Regions from separate parts of the Homo sapiens genome. Here regions 1, 2 and 4 are each linked to region 3. The links are contacts of gene promoters, found by promoter capture Hi-C in blood cells and fetal thymus (Javierre and others, 2016). All regions are on one chromosome and are shown on one strand. Each heading gives the region's core, a stretch centred on a gene start or on the middle of the fragment in contact. The rest is flanking DNA. Distances are from core to core; before and after follow the strand shown. Region 1 has its middle 19 kb from the start of TTYH1. Region 2 has its middle 8.9 kb from the start of LILRA4. Region 3 holds the start of TMC4 (transmembrane channel like 4). Region 4 has its middle 11 kb from the start of LILRA5.

The links. Contacts are between HindIII fragments. The CHiCAGO score rates a contact against its expected background, and 5 or more counts as called.
Region 1: a fragment that was not itself captured here is called in contact with the fragment with the promoter of TMC4 in region 3 in 9 of 17 cell types (monocytes, erythroblasts, total B cells and 6 more); the score reaches 9.2 in monocytes.
Region 2: a contact is called between a fragment that was not itself captured here and the fragment with the promoter of TMC4 in region 3, in 1 of 17 cell types (monocytes). The highest score is 5.1, in monocytes.
Region 4: a contact is called between a fragment that was not itself captured here and the fragment with the promoter of TMC4 in region 3, in 4 of 17 cell types (M0 macrophages, M1 macrophages, neutrophils and 1 more). The highest score is 8.2, in M0 macrophages.

The regions. Positions count from the first base shown.
Region 1 is chr19:54,395,360-54,398,152 of GRCh38, reverse strand. No RefSeq gene overlaps it. Among named protein-coding and RNA genes, the nearest start is that of TTYH1, 19 kb to the left of the region's middle. The HindIII fragment of the contact is 1,914 bases long and covers 385-2,298 here.
Region 2 is chr19:54,346,581-54,349,521 of GRCh38, reverse strand. No RefSeq gene overlaps it. Among named protein-coding and RNA genes, the nearest start is that of LILRA4, 8.9 kb to the right of the region's middle. The HindIII fragment of the contact is 344 bases long and covers 1,520-1,863 here.
Region 3 is chr19:54,171,627-54,174,527 of GRCh38, reverse strand. It overlaps TMC4 (transmembrane channel like 4), which reads left to right and starts at 1,368. Exons shown (of 15, transcript NM_144686.4): 1 at 1,368-1,489; 2 at 2,445-2,658. The coding sequence starts at 1,411. MBOAT7 (membrane bound acylglycerophosphatidylinositol O-acyltransferase MBOAT7) reads left to right here. Exons shown (of 8, transcript NM_024298.5): 8 at 97-1,113. The coding sequence ends at 484. RefSeq lists enhancers at 1-428, 429-1,245. The HindIII fragment of the contact is 9,651 bases long and covers 940-2,901 here.
Region 4 is chr19:54,322,930-54,326,052 of GRCh38, reverse strand. No RefSeq gene overlaps it. Among named protein-coding and RNA genes, the nearest start is that of LILRA5, 11 kb to the right of the region's middle. RefSeq lists a silencer at 582-876. The HindIII fragment of the contact is 479 bases long and covers 1,282-1,760 here.

The sequences.
Region 1 (2,793 bases), core at 92-2,591, 220 kb before region 3:
GGCTGGAGTGCGGTGGAATGATCTCGGCTCACTGCAAACTCTGCCTCCCAGGTTCAAGTAATTCTCCTGCCTCAGCCTCCCGAAGAGCTGGGATTACAGGCGCGCACCACCATGCCTGGCTAATTCTTGTATTTTCAGTAGAGACGGGGTTTCACCATGTTGTCCAGGCTGGTCTCAAACTCCTGACCTCAGGTGATCTGCCCGCCTCAGCCTCCCAAAGTGCTGGGATTATAGGCGTGAGCCACTGCACCTGGCCCCTTATTTGTTTAAAATAGTGTCTCTAAACCACATATTGGAATGAACTTGGTAAAAATGACAACAGAAACCATGAATTTTTTTTTGAAATGATTCGTGAAATCATTTTCAATGCCATAGTTTGAAGCTTTCCAATATAGGTCTATATCACAGTTTTTGTATTTTTGTACCTGTTGATGAACACATGGGCTTCTTTTATTTTAGTTACTTTTCTATTTCTATTTATTTTACTTTCCCTATTACGTAACAGACATTTTTTACATGTTTCTTGGTGCATATGTGCAAGAATTTTTAAAGAGTATACATATAAGAATGGAATGATTGCGCTATAGGGATTGTTAGTTTCAATTTTTTGAAATAGTGTCAAAGTGTTTCCAAAAGTAGCCTTACCAATTTTTTCCTGGCTTAATTGAGATATGATTGACAAATAAAAGCGTATATATTTGGTCAGGCGCGGTGGCTCATGCCTGTAATCCCAGCATTTTGGGAGGCCGAGGCGGGTGGATCACAAGGTCAGGAGATCGAGACCATCCTGGCTAACACGGTGAAACCCCGTCTCTACTAAAAAAAAAAATACAAAAATTAGCCGGGCGCCTGTAGTCCCAGCTACTCGGGAGGCTGAGGCAGGAGAATGGTGTGAAGCCGGGAGGCGGAGATTGCAGTGAGCCGAGATTGCGCCACTGCACTCCAGCCTGGGCGACAGAGCGAGACTCCGTCTCAAAAAGAGAAGTGTATATATTTAAGGTGTACAACATGATGTTTTGACATATGTACACATTGTGAAATAATTACCATAATCAAGATGTTTAACATATCCATCACCTCACTTTTTTTTCTGAGACAGAGTCTCATTCTGTCACTCAGCCTAGAGTGCAGTGGTGCGATCTCAGCTCACGGCAAACTCCACCTCCCACGTCAAGTGATTCTTGTGCCTCAGCCTCCCGAGTAGCTGGGATTACAGGTGTGTGCCACCACGTCTGGCTAATTTTTGTATTTTTTGTAGAGATGGGGTTTGGCCATGTTGCCCAGGCTGGTCTCAAACTGCTGACCTCAAGTGATCCACTTGCCTCAGCCTCCCAAAGTGCTTGGATTATAGGTGTGAGCCACCGTTCGTGGCCACATAGTTGTCATTTTTGCGTGTGTGGCGAGAGCCCTTACGATCTATTCTGCTAACAATGTTTAAGTACATAATACATTTTCACTAATTTGTCACCATGTTGCACAACAGATCTCTTGAATTTATTTTTTTCTATCTAAAATTGTGTACCCTCTGACCACGATCTTCCCAATCCCTACTCCCCTTCCCAAGCCCCTGGTCACCACCATTCCGCTCTCTGCTTCTGTGAGTTCAACTTTTTTTTTTTTTTTTTTTTTGAGACAGAGTCTCACTCTGTCGCCCAGGCTGGAGTGCAGTGGCGCAATCTCGGCTCACTGCAACCTCCGCCTCCCAGGTTCAAGCCATTCTCCTGCCTCAGCCTCCCGAGTAGCTGGGATTACAGGCATGCACCACCACGCCTGGCTAATTTTGAATTTTTAGTAGAGACGGGGTTTCTCCATATTGGTCAGGCTGGTCTCGAACTCCCAACCTCAGGTGATCTGCCCGCCTTGGTCTCCCAAAGTGCTGACAGGCGTGAGCCACCGTGCCCAGCCTCCCGAGTAGGTTTTGCCATGTTGGCCATGGCTAGTCTCGAAGGCCTGAGTTCAACTTTTTAATATTCCATGTATAAGTGAGGTTGTGCGATATTTGTCTTTCTGTATCTGGCTTATTTCATGTGGCATGATGTCCTGAAGGTTGACAATTACATCCATACTGTAAATGACAGGGTTTCCTTCCTTTCTAAGGCTGGATAGTATTTCCACTGTGTATATATACATTTCCTTTACCCATTGTCCACTGATGGAGACTTAGGTGATTCCATATGTTGGCTATTGTGAATAACTCTGCAATACACATAGGGGTGCAGACATCTCTTCCACACACTGGTTTCAGTTTCTTTGAGCATATACCCAGTAGTGGGATTGCTGCATCATGGAGGGTAAGCTTTTTTTGTTTTGTTTTGAGACAGAGTCTCGCTCTGTCGCTCAGGCTGGAGTGCAGCAATCTCGGCTCACTGCAAGTTCCGCCTCCCGGGTTCAAACTATTCTCCTGCCTCAGCCTCCCGAGTGGCTGGGACTACAGGTGCCTGCCACCACGCCCGGCTAATTTTTTGTATTTTTAGTAGAGATGGGGTTTCGCCATGTTGGCTAGGCTGGTCTCGATCTCCTGACCTCAGGGGATCCGCCTGCCTCAGCCTCCCAAAGTGCTGGGATTACAGGCGTGAGCCACCGCGCCCGGCCACAAAAGCAAATTTATGACAGGGACCTGGTGATGCGTGCTGCATCACACCACATCCTTCCATTCCTTTTCACAAAGAGACTCTAGTGGCTCATGCCTGTAATCCCAGCACTTTGGGAGGCCGAAGCGGGCGGATCACAAGGTCAGGAGTTCGAGACCAGCCTAGCCAACATGGCGAAACCCCATCTCTACTAAAAACACAA
Region 2 (2,941 bases), core at 442-2,941, 170 kb before region 3:
TCTGTGTCCTCCCTCCATCCGTCCACCCTCAGGATCTGCATCCTCCCTCCATCCATCCTCAGGATCTGCGTCCTCCATCCATCCACCCTCAGGATCTGCGTCCTCCCTCCATCCACCCTCAGGATCTACGTCCTCCCTCCATCCATCCTCAGGATCTGTGTCCTCCCTCCACGCATCCTCAGGATCTGTGTCCTCCCTCCATCCACCCTCAGGATCTGTGTCCTCCCTTCATCCATCCTCAGGATCTGTGTCCTCCCTCCATCCACCCTCAGGATCTGTGTCCTCCCTCCATCCATCCACCCTCAGGATCTGTGTCCTCCATCCATCCATCCACCCTCAGGATCTGTTTCCTCCCTCCATCCATCCTCAGGATCTGTGTCCTCCCTCCATGCATCCTCAGGATCTGTGTCCTCCCTCCATCCATCCTCAGGATCTGTGTCCTCTCTCCATCCACCCTCAGCGCCCTCTTTCAGAAGATCTGCCCAGAGCATTCTGGTCTTCTTGATGGCCTGGTCTCTCGGTGGGAGAAGCTCTTCCTGGCTATGTGTGGTCAGCCATTGTGGTCCTTTTCTGGTCTTTGAATGTTTCTATAACAGCACTTATAATCATTTGCAGTAACATACAGTTGAGCTTTGAACTCCACAGGTTTGAACTGTGCAGGTCCACTTGTATACAGATTTTCTTTCAATCATAGTTACACGAGTGTGCCTGCCTTTCCTGCTTCCCCTCCCACCTGTTTTACCGCATTTTCTTTTTCTTTAGGTTTTATCTTTAAGTTTATGAGTTATATTTAAAAATATTTTTGCATCATATCTATTCAAGAAAATACACTTATATTTCTAAACCAAAACAAGAAACAAGACACAATTATATCCGTCTAATTTTATTTAATCTCTTCTGCATGGTTTCTCTCTCTCACACAAGTATCCACTTTTAAAGGTTTAGGTCAGGCATGGTGGCTCACGCCTGTAATCCCAGCACTTTGGGAGGCCAAGGCGAGCAGATCACCTGAAGTCAGGAGTCCAAGACCAGCCTGGCCAACATGGTGAAACCCTGTCTCTACTAAAAATTTAAAAAAAAAGAAAATTGGCCAGTGTGGTGGTTGTCAGGCCTCTGAGCTGAAGCTCAGCTATTGTAACCCCTGTGACCTGCACATATACACCCAGATGGCCTGAAGGAGCCAAGAAGTCTGGGGCAGCCGAAAAACCACAAAAGAAGTAAAACAGCCAGTTCCTGCCTTAACTGATTAACCAACATTACGACATTCCACCATTGTGACTTGTCCCTGCCCCACCTTAACCGATCAATCAACTTTGTGACATTCTTCTTCTGGATAATAAGTCTTACGATGTCCCCACCAGGTACCTTGTGACCTCCTCCTCTGCCAACAATAGATGACCACCTTTTACCGTAATTTTCCATCACCTACCCAACTCCTATAAAGCAACCCCTTCCCCATCTCCCTTCGCTGACTCCTTTCTCAGACTCAGTCCACCTGCACCCAGGTGAATTAAAAGCTTTATTGCTCATACAAAGCCTGTTTGCTGGTCTCTTCACATGGACACGCTTGGCAGTGGTGCATGCCTGTAATCCCAGCTACCCAGGAGGCTGAGGCAGGAGAATCGCTTGAACCCAAGAAGTCAAGGTTGCAGTGAGCAGAGATCGTGCCATTGCACTCCAGCCTGGGTGACAGCATGAGACGCTGTCAGGAAAAAAAAAAACAAAAAACAAAACAAAAAAACTTGACGGGAGGGTTAATTACCATCTTCCTACAACGAGGAAAATGGATGGGGCAGGGGAGGATGTCACCTGCTGAAGGTCAACTGACAGTAAGTATGAACCCTCATGCCTTAAACCAAAGCTTGGGAATTTCTTCCAGTGAATGCTTTGGCCCAAAGCATGGAGACAGAATTCACGGTATCAAATGAAGAGTTATGGACAGGGGAAGAAGAGGTTGTAAATGACTTGGAGATTTGATGGAGTTCCCACTTATAAGTGAGAACATGTGGTATTTGGTTTTCTGTTCCTGTGTTTGTTTACTAAGGATAATGACCTCCAGCTCCATTCACATCTCTGCAACAGACATGATCGCGTTCTGGTGCTGCTACTTATAGAATTAAGAAAGTCGGAGGGAAGAAGTGCTTGGGAGAAACAAAACTAGACAGCAGGGCCAGGAGGGAGACAGTGCTTCCTCTGCACTCCGTGAACAGCCTTATAAATATCTCCCTAGCCTGGTTCTTCCCCGGGATCATTCATCCTGGGATGACACCATTCGTTCCTCCAGTAAACTAAGGCAGAGAGTGAAACAGACCCTAGTTGCTCACTCACTTTTGTTTCACATACAGTGAACAAATCCAAGCAGTTGTACCCTTGAGCCCTCCTCACCCACGTCCCCGGGTCCATTCCCACAGTGCAAGCTCACTGGAGACTGAAGACAGCCTGTCTGTGCCACCACATCAGCCTCCTCCTGGTCCTCTTCTCCAAACCCTCACTCCAGGCTGACATCTATTATTCTCATAGCCCCAACCTTATCTGTAGCTGACTCTTCCCTGATCAAAATCCTTCTCCGGGTCTGAATCTTCCTCCAAGTAAGACACAAGTATCTCTGCCTGATGTTCATGTTGTTGATGACCAGGACTAAGTTAACATCCCCAGCGCCAAAAAACATGGCTCCTTCCTACAGAGCAAATTCATTACAGGAAACCACTTCCGCCTTTTTCCCACCCACCACACCCCAGACAGACACCTGGAGATATTAACATATTTCTGCCTTCTCATAGTCAGCTCCCCGAGAAAATTTTTATTTTTTTATGTTTTAATTATTTATTTATTTATTTATTTATTTGAGACGGAGTCTTGCTCTGTCTACCAGGCTGGAGTGCAGTGGCGCGATCTCGGCTCACTGCAGCCTCCACCTCCAGGGTTCAAGAGATCTGCCATC
Region 3 (2,901 bases), core at 119-2,618:
AGGGAGGAGGGGCTGGGGTCCTGGACTCCTGGATCTGGGGGCAGTGGGCACTGGGGACCTGGACTCGTAGGTCCTGACTCCCAGCCTCCTCCTCAGGAGCGCCTGGACCATGCTGCTGAGCGCCTACTGGCACGGCCTCCACCCGGGCTACTACCTGAGCTTCCTGACCATCCCGCTGTGCCTGGCTGCCGAGGGCCGGCTGGAGTCAGCCCTGCGGGGGCGGCTGAGCCCAGGGGGCCAGAAGGCCTGGGACTGGGTGCACTGGTTCCTGAAGATGCGCGCCTATGACTACATGTGCATGGGCTTCGTGCTGCTCTCCTTGGCCGACACCCTTCGGTACTGGGCCTCCATCTACTTCTGTATCCACTTCCTGGCCCTGGCAGCCCTGGGGCTGGGGCTGGCTTTAGGTGGGGGCAGCCCCAGCCGGCGGAAGGCAGCATCCCAGCCCACCAGCCTTGCCCCGGAGAAGCTCCGGGAGGAGTAAGCTGTCACGACGCTCCCTCTGCCAGCTGGTCCCGGGAATTCTGTGAACCAGGCTGCTGTCTCCTCCCCAGAAAGAGTCCTTACCTTGGAGAGGGTCCTGGAGAGAATTTCCTCTTCCCCAGCTAAATACCCTGCCTGCAACTGAAGCAGACCCGGGGGTGTCCTCCCTGCCCTCTGCCCAGAGGCCACCTCCACTCCTACAAAATCAAAGTATTGTCCAGACAAGAGTCACTGGCCCCTGCTCCAGCTTCTGGGTATCCAGAGAGCACTGCACTTCCCCAAAACGGAAGGGGCCCCTGGGCAGTGGGTTTTGGGCAAATTCCCTTTCTTTGCATCCACAATGTGGGGTCGGAGCTTGGGGGCAGGTCCTGGGAGTGGGAAGCCTCTTCCTTGTGTCTTTCGCTCCACTTTTAGCTCATCGCACCAATATTGCAGACTTGGAAGGAAGCATAAGCTTCCCATTTCACAAAGGGGAAACTGAGGTGCGGGTGCGCGGGCCTGGGGACGGCCGTCCCATGGCTTCCATCTGAGCCACCTCGGGACCCCAGCACTCCTGGCGCCCTCTTCTCATCGCTTGGCCTATGACAGGTCACCGTGTGTAAATCTTTCCCAATAAAGTGTTGCACAAAGGCATCGTGTCCGTGCAGGTATCTGGGTGATAAACGGTGGGAAGGACTTAGTCCACCAAGTCCCAGGGTGAGGTACAGCCCCCCCGCCCAGCCCAGGAACCAAACTGTGAGGCCCGGGGCACCACGGGGACTTCAGCTCCCAGGAGACCTTTCGCATCAGCGGCCCTGAGAAACCACAGGAAGTGTACCTTACTCCCTCCGGGCCACCTGCTGGCCAGGTACACACCTGCCCCTGGCCCCTCCCTTACCTGGGGCAGTGTCTGCCTGGTGGCCACTAGAGACAGCCCAGCCTGGGGCCATGGAAGAAAACCCGACCTTGGAATCAGAAGCCTGGGGCTCCTCTAGGGAGTGGCTGGCCCCCCGGGAGGCCAGAGGAGGTAGGGAATGCCAGGAGAAGCTCAGATCCATCCGACCTTCAGGCTAGGTGGGAGTCCTGCTGGAGGAGGAAAGGGGAGGCCTGGCCTCCTGAGTCTGAGGGCTAAAGAGAGAAGGTTCCACTTCCTGATATTATGGGGGAGAAGGGAACTGGAGGCTGGAACTCCAGGGTCTGAGGAGGAGGAGCCTGGAGAACCAGGCTAGTCTGGGAGGAGGGGAGGGCTAAGGGCTGGGAGTTTGGGTGTCTTGGGAATAGGAGAGGCTGGGTTCCCACACTCCTGAGCTAGAGGGAAAAGGAAGTTAAAGCCTGGACTCCACTGCCCTGGAGTAGGAGGGTTCCACGCTTGGGGATGGAGTTGAGGGCTGTGGACCCCTGGGTCCAGGGGAAGTAGAGGCTGGCACCCGGACTCCTGGGCCTGAGGGAGGAGGGGCTGGGAACCTGGTTTCCTGGTCTGAGGGAGGAGGGGCTGGGTGCCTGGATTCCTATGTCTGAGGGAGGAGGAGCCGGGGGCCTGGACTCCTGGGTCTGAGGGAGGAGGGGCCGGGGGCCTGTTCTCCTGGGTCTGAGGGAGGAGGAGCCGGGGGCCTGGACTCCTGGGTCTGAGGGAGGAGGCGCCGGGGGCCTGTTCTCCTGGGTCTGAGGGAGGAGGAGCCGGGGGCCTGGACTCCTGGGTCTGAGGGAGGAGGAGCCGGGGGCCTGGACTCCTGGGTCTGAGGGAGGAGGAGCCGGGGGCCTGGACTCCTGGGTCTGAGGGAGGAGGAGCCGGGGGCCTGGACTCCTGGGTCTGAGGGAGGAGGAGCCGGGGGCCTGGACTCCTGGGTCTGAGGGAGGAGGAGCCGGGGGCCTGGACTCCTGGGTCTGAGGGAGGAGGGGCCGGGGACCTGGTTTCCTGGTCTGAGGGAGGAGGAATTAGGGCCCAGACTCCCGGGTCTTCCCAGCCCCCTGCTCCTCCCCAGGCCCATCGCTGTCTTCTGTGCTGAACGAGCTGCCCAGTGCTGCCACCCTTCGGTACCGAGACCCTGGGGTGCTGCCTTGGGGGGCGCTGGAGGAGGAGGAGGAGGATGGAGGAAGGAGCAGAAAGGCCTTCACAGAAGTCACCCAGACAGAGCTGCAGGACCCTCACCCTTCCCGGGAACTGCCCTGGCCCATGCAGGCCAGACGGGCACACAGGTGAGGCCCCACCTCCAGCTGGGACCCGCACAGCCCGGACCGGGCCCTTCTCCCATACCCTGGACTCGGTCTCCTCCCTCTGTCCTCTGCCGCTCCTGGCTTCTGGGGCCTCTCTCTGCCCCGCTCAGAGCTGCCTCTCTTGGTTTCTTTCTTCCCCTCATCTTTGTCTCTACTTCGGACTCCAGGTGAGTGCTGCCTTTCGATGGCTCTGGGGTCTCTTCTCTCTGGGATTTGCCGTCTCCC
Region 4 (3,123 bases), core at 272-2,771, 150 kb before region 3:
TCTGTGGGGACGGAGCCTGTGCCTAGCATTGGGCCTGAGTACAGGCTTGCCTGGACCAGCCACACTTACCTTCATTTCCCTGCGTTGGAGGCAGAGTACTGATCAAGACCACTGAGTTTTCCACAACCCAACCCATCACTTAGGATACCTGAATGCTTCTGGTTAACAAAGGTCAAGCATAAAGCCCACTGCCAGCGCTACAACTGGCTCTCACCAGCAATTGCCACCTACTGGCCTGGAGGTCAAACCATACAGCACATTACAACGTCTCCTGAAACAAGTGACAGTGATTGGGGAAGAGACAAGTTTCACACAAACTCTGCCACCACCATTGCCCACGCCACCCCAGCTACACCTCTCCTTTGCAGAACCGCTTGAGGAAAGGCTAAACCTTTCTGCAAAGGAGAGGTGTCTAATTCCAGTGCTCGGGGTCTGGAGCCCATGCCACACTTGCCCCTCAGTTCTGTCTGTGGGGACCTGTCCCCTACTTGAGACCAGATTGCCAAGGAGGAGGCCTTAAGTTAACTTGCCTGCTCTGTCACCTACCTGAGCCTGGGAAGGTTGAGGCTGCAGTGATCCAAGATCGTGCCACTGCACTCCACCCTGGGTGACAAAGTGAGACCCTGTCTCAAAAAACAAAAACAAAAAAACTGCTCTGACCTTTTCAAAAGTATCAAGGTCAAGAACAAAGATAAACAAAGGCACCACGCAGTGGAGTAAGAGCCTGTCTATTGCCTATTGCTCTCAAGCGCCATCTACTGGATTACAGCCACACTACAACACCAAAAATCACTTTACTAAATTCTACCGCCTGGAAAACCAAGAGCAAGAATTCAGCAAAGACCCTGTACAGAGCCTTAGTCCCCTGAAAACTTCCAGAAATAAAGCCAACAGACTATACTCAATTTATACCCTTGCAATGAAAGGAATAGCAACCCTCCCAGATGAGAAAAAAAATCAGGGAAATAACTCCTATTATCTCCAAACCAGTCCACGAGCTCCCCAGAAATTGTTCTTAATCAGTATGAATTGTCTGAAATGACAAACGTAGAATTTGGAATCTGGATGGCAAGGAAGGTCATTCAAATCAAGAGCAAAGTTGAAATTCAATCCAAGGAAGCCAAGCAATCCAGTAAAATGATTAATGACATGAACGATTAAATTTTAAGAAACACCCAAACTGAACTTCTCGAGCTGAAAAATTCATGACACGAATTTCATAATACGATGAGAAGCATTAACAGCAGAATAGACCAAGCTGAGGAAAAGAATTTCAAAGCTTGAAGACTTGTTTGAATCAAATCAGTCAAATATAAGGAAAAAATATTTTTAAAAGTGAACAAAATCTCTGAGAAATATGATATTATCTAAAGACACCAAATGTATGACTTGTCAGCATTCCTGAAAGGGGAAGAGAGAATAAGCAACTTGGAAAATATATTTGAGGATATAGTCCATGAATATTTTCCTAAACTCGCTAGAGAGTTTGACACACAAATCCAAGAAACATAGAGACGCCCAGCCAGATAACGGTCTAGATTTGAGGGTATGGTGAAAAAGATGCTTAGAAAATGTCAGAAGTGAGACACAATGGCTCATTTGCTTGTGTCTTGCATTCTCCACCTTGCAATTCTGTACTGATGGCTGTACTATCAGCAGGATCCACTCGTTATTATATTCACTATCAACCTTCAGCCTAAGGGTTTTGGCAGCCATTGATGTTTATTGCTTGTATACTCAACGCACAGGTTATCCAAGCTTTGCAGGGTTAACTATTATTATGCAAAAACTCTACAGCTATTCTTAGGCAAAAACATTACTATAGCTATTACTATACTTATTATTATGTAGAAACATTCTACAGAAAAGAATGTTTCCTGTGTAACACTTCAGATAAACAAAAGAGATCTTGCTTCTTGCCTTCATTTCCACGTTTTTGATGTGGAGATTTTGTTCTTTTCCCATTCCTCATATTTGAGGGGTTTTTTGTTTTTTAATTTTGTTTTTAACAGTAGTAAACTGATAGGCTTTGAACATATTCATTAGTTTTAATACACTACCTATATTATTTGATTCTATAAATATTCCACATTTTGCCATTGGGAACTTTTCATGATAGACTTTATGTTCAGGTAACATGAATCTGATGGTATGTGGTGATGTCTTTGCTTTCTTGCATGATAAGAAGTTCTGACTTCATCTCCTGTATTTTCTCTCCGAATGTGGAGTCAGCTATTTCTCTAGGATGAAATTTAGAATTTTTGACCATACATATTTTAAGAATTAAACATTTTTGAGGGTGTATTCACTTATGTTTTACTATATATAGTCAAAATTATATAATAATATTAACTATATGTCACTACATAATATATAATTTGATTTAAAAGTATACATTTATTATATAATATGATAAATAATATATGCATTATAAAATATATGGTCAAGTAATTTTGCTTACATTCTAGTACAAATAATTCTTCCTTGTTTAGTAATGCCCTAATTTGATAGGAACTCAATTCTATTTCCTTTTTTAAGGTATTATCTTTAGATTTATAAGTTATATTTAAAAATATTTTATAGTATAGACATTCAGGAATATGTTTATATATGTATATATATATATTTTTAAACGGAGTCTTGCTCGTCGCCCAGGCTAGAATGCTGTGGGTGGCAAGCCACCCAGGTGCCGAGGCAAGAGACAGAGGACACGAGCTGTTCCAGTATAATAAAATATAAAACAAGAATAGTTATACCAGATATAGATCTTAGTTATGATTATATATGAATATCATTAATCATTTGTTTGTAGCAGTTACCCTTTATCCCAATATTATAATAATCCTCCCTCTGTAATCATAACCTAGGAAAAGCCAGGCCATACAGAGATAGGAGCTGAGGGGACACAGTGAGAAGTGACCAGAAGACAAGAGTGCGAGCCCTCTGTCATGCCCGGACAGGGCCACCAGAGGGCTCCTTGGTCTAGCGGTGACGCCAGCGTCTGGGAAGACGTCCGTTGCCAAGCGGACCGTGGTCTAGCGGTAGCGTAAGTGGCAAGGAACAACACCCGCTACTTAGCAGACTGGGGAAGGGAGTCTCCCTTTCCCCGGGGGAGTTTAGAGA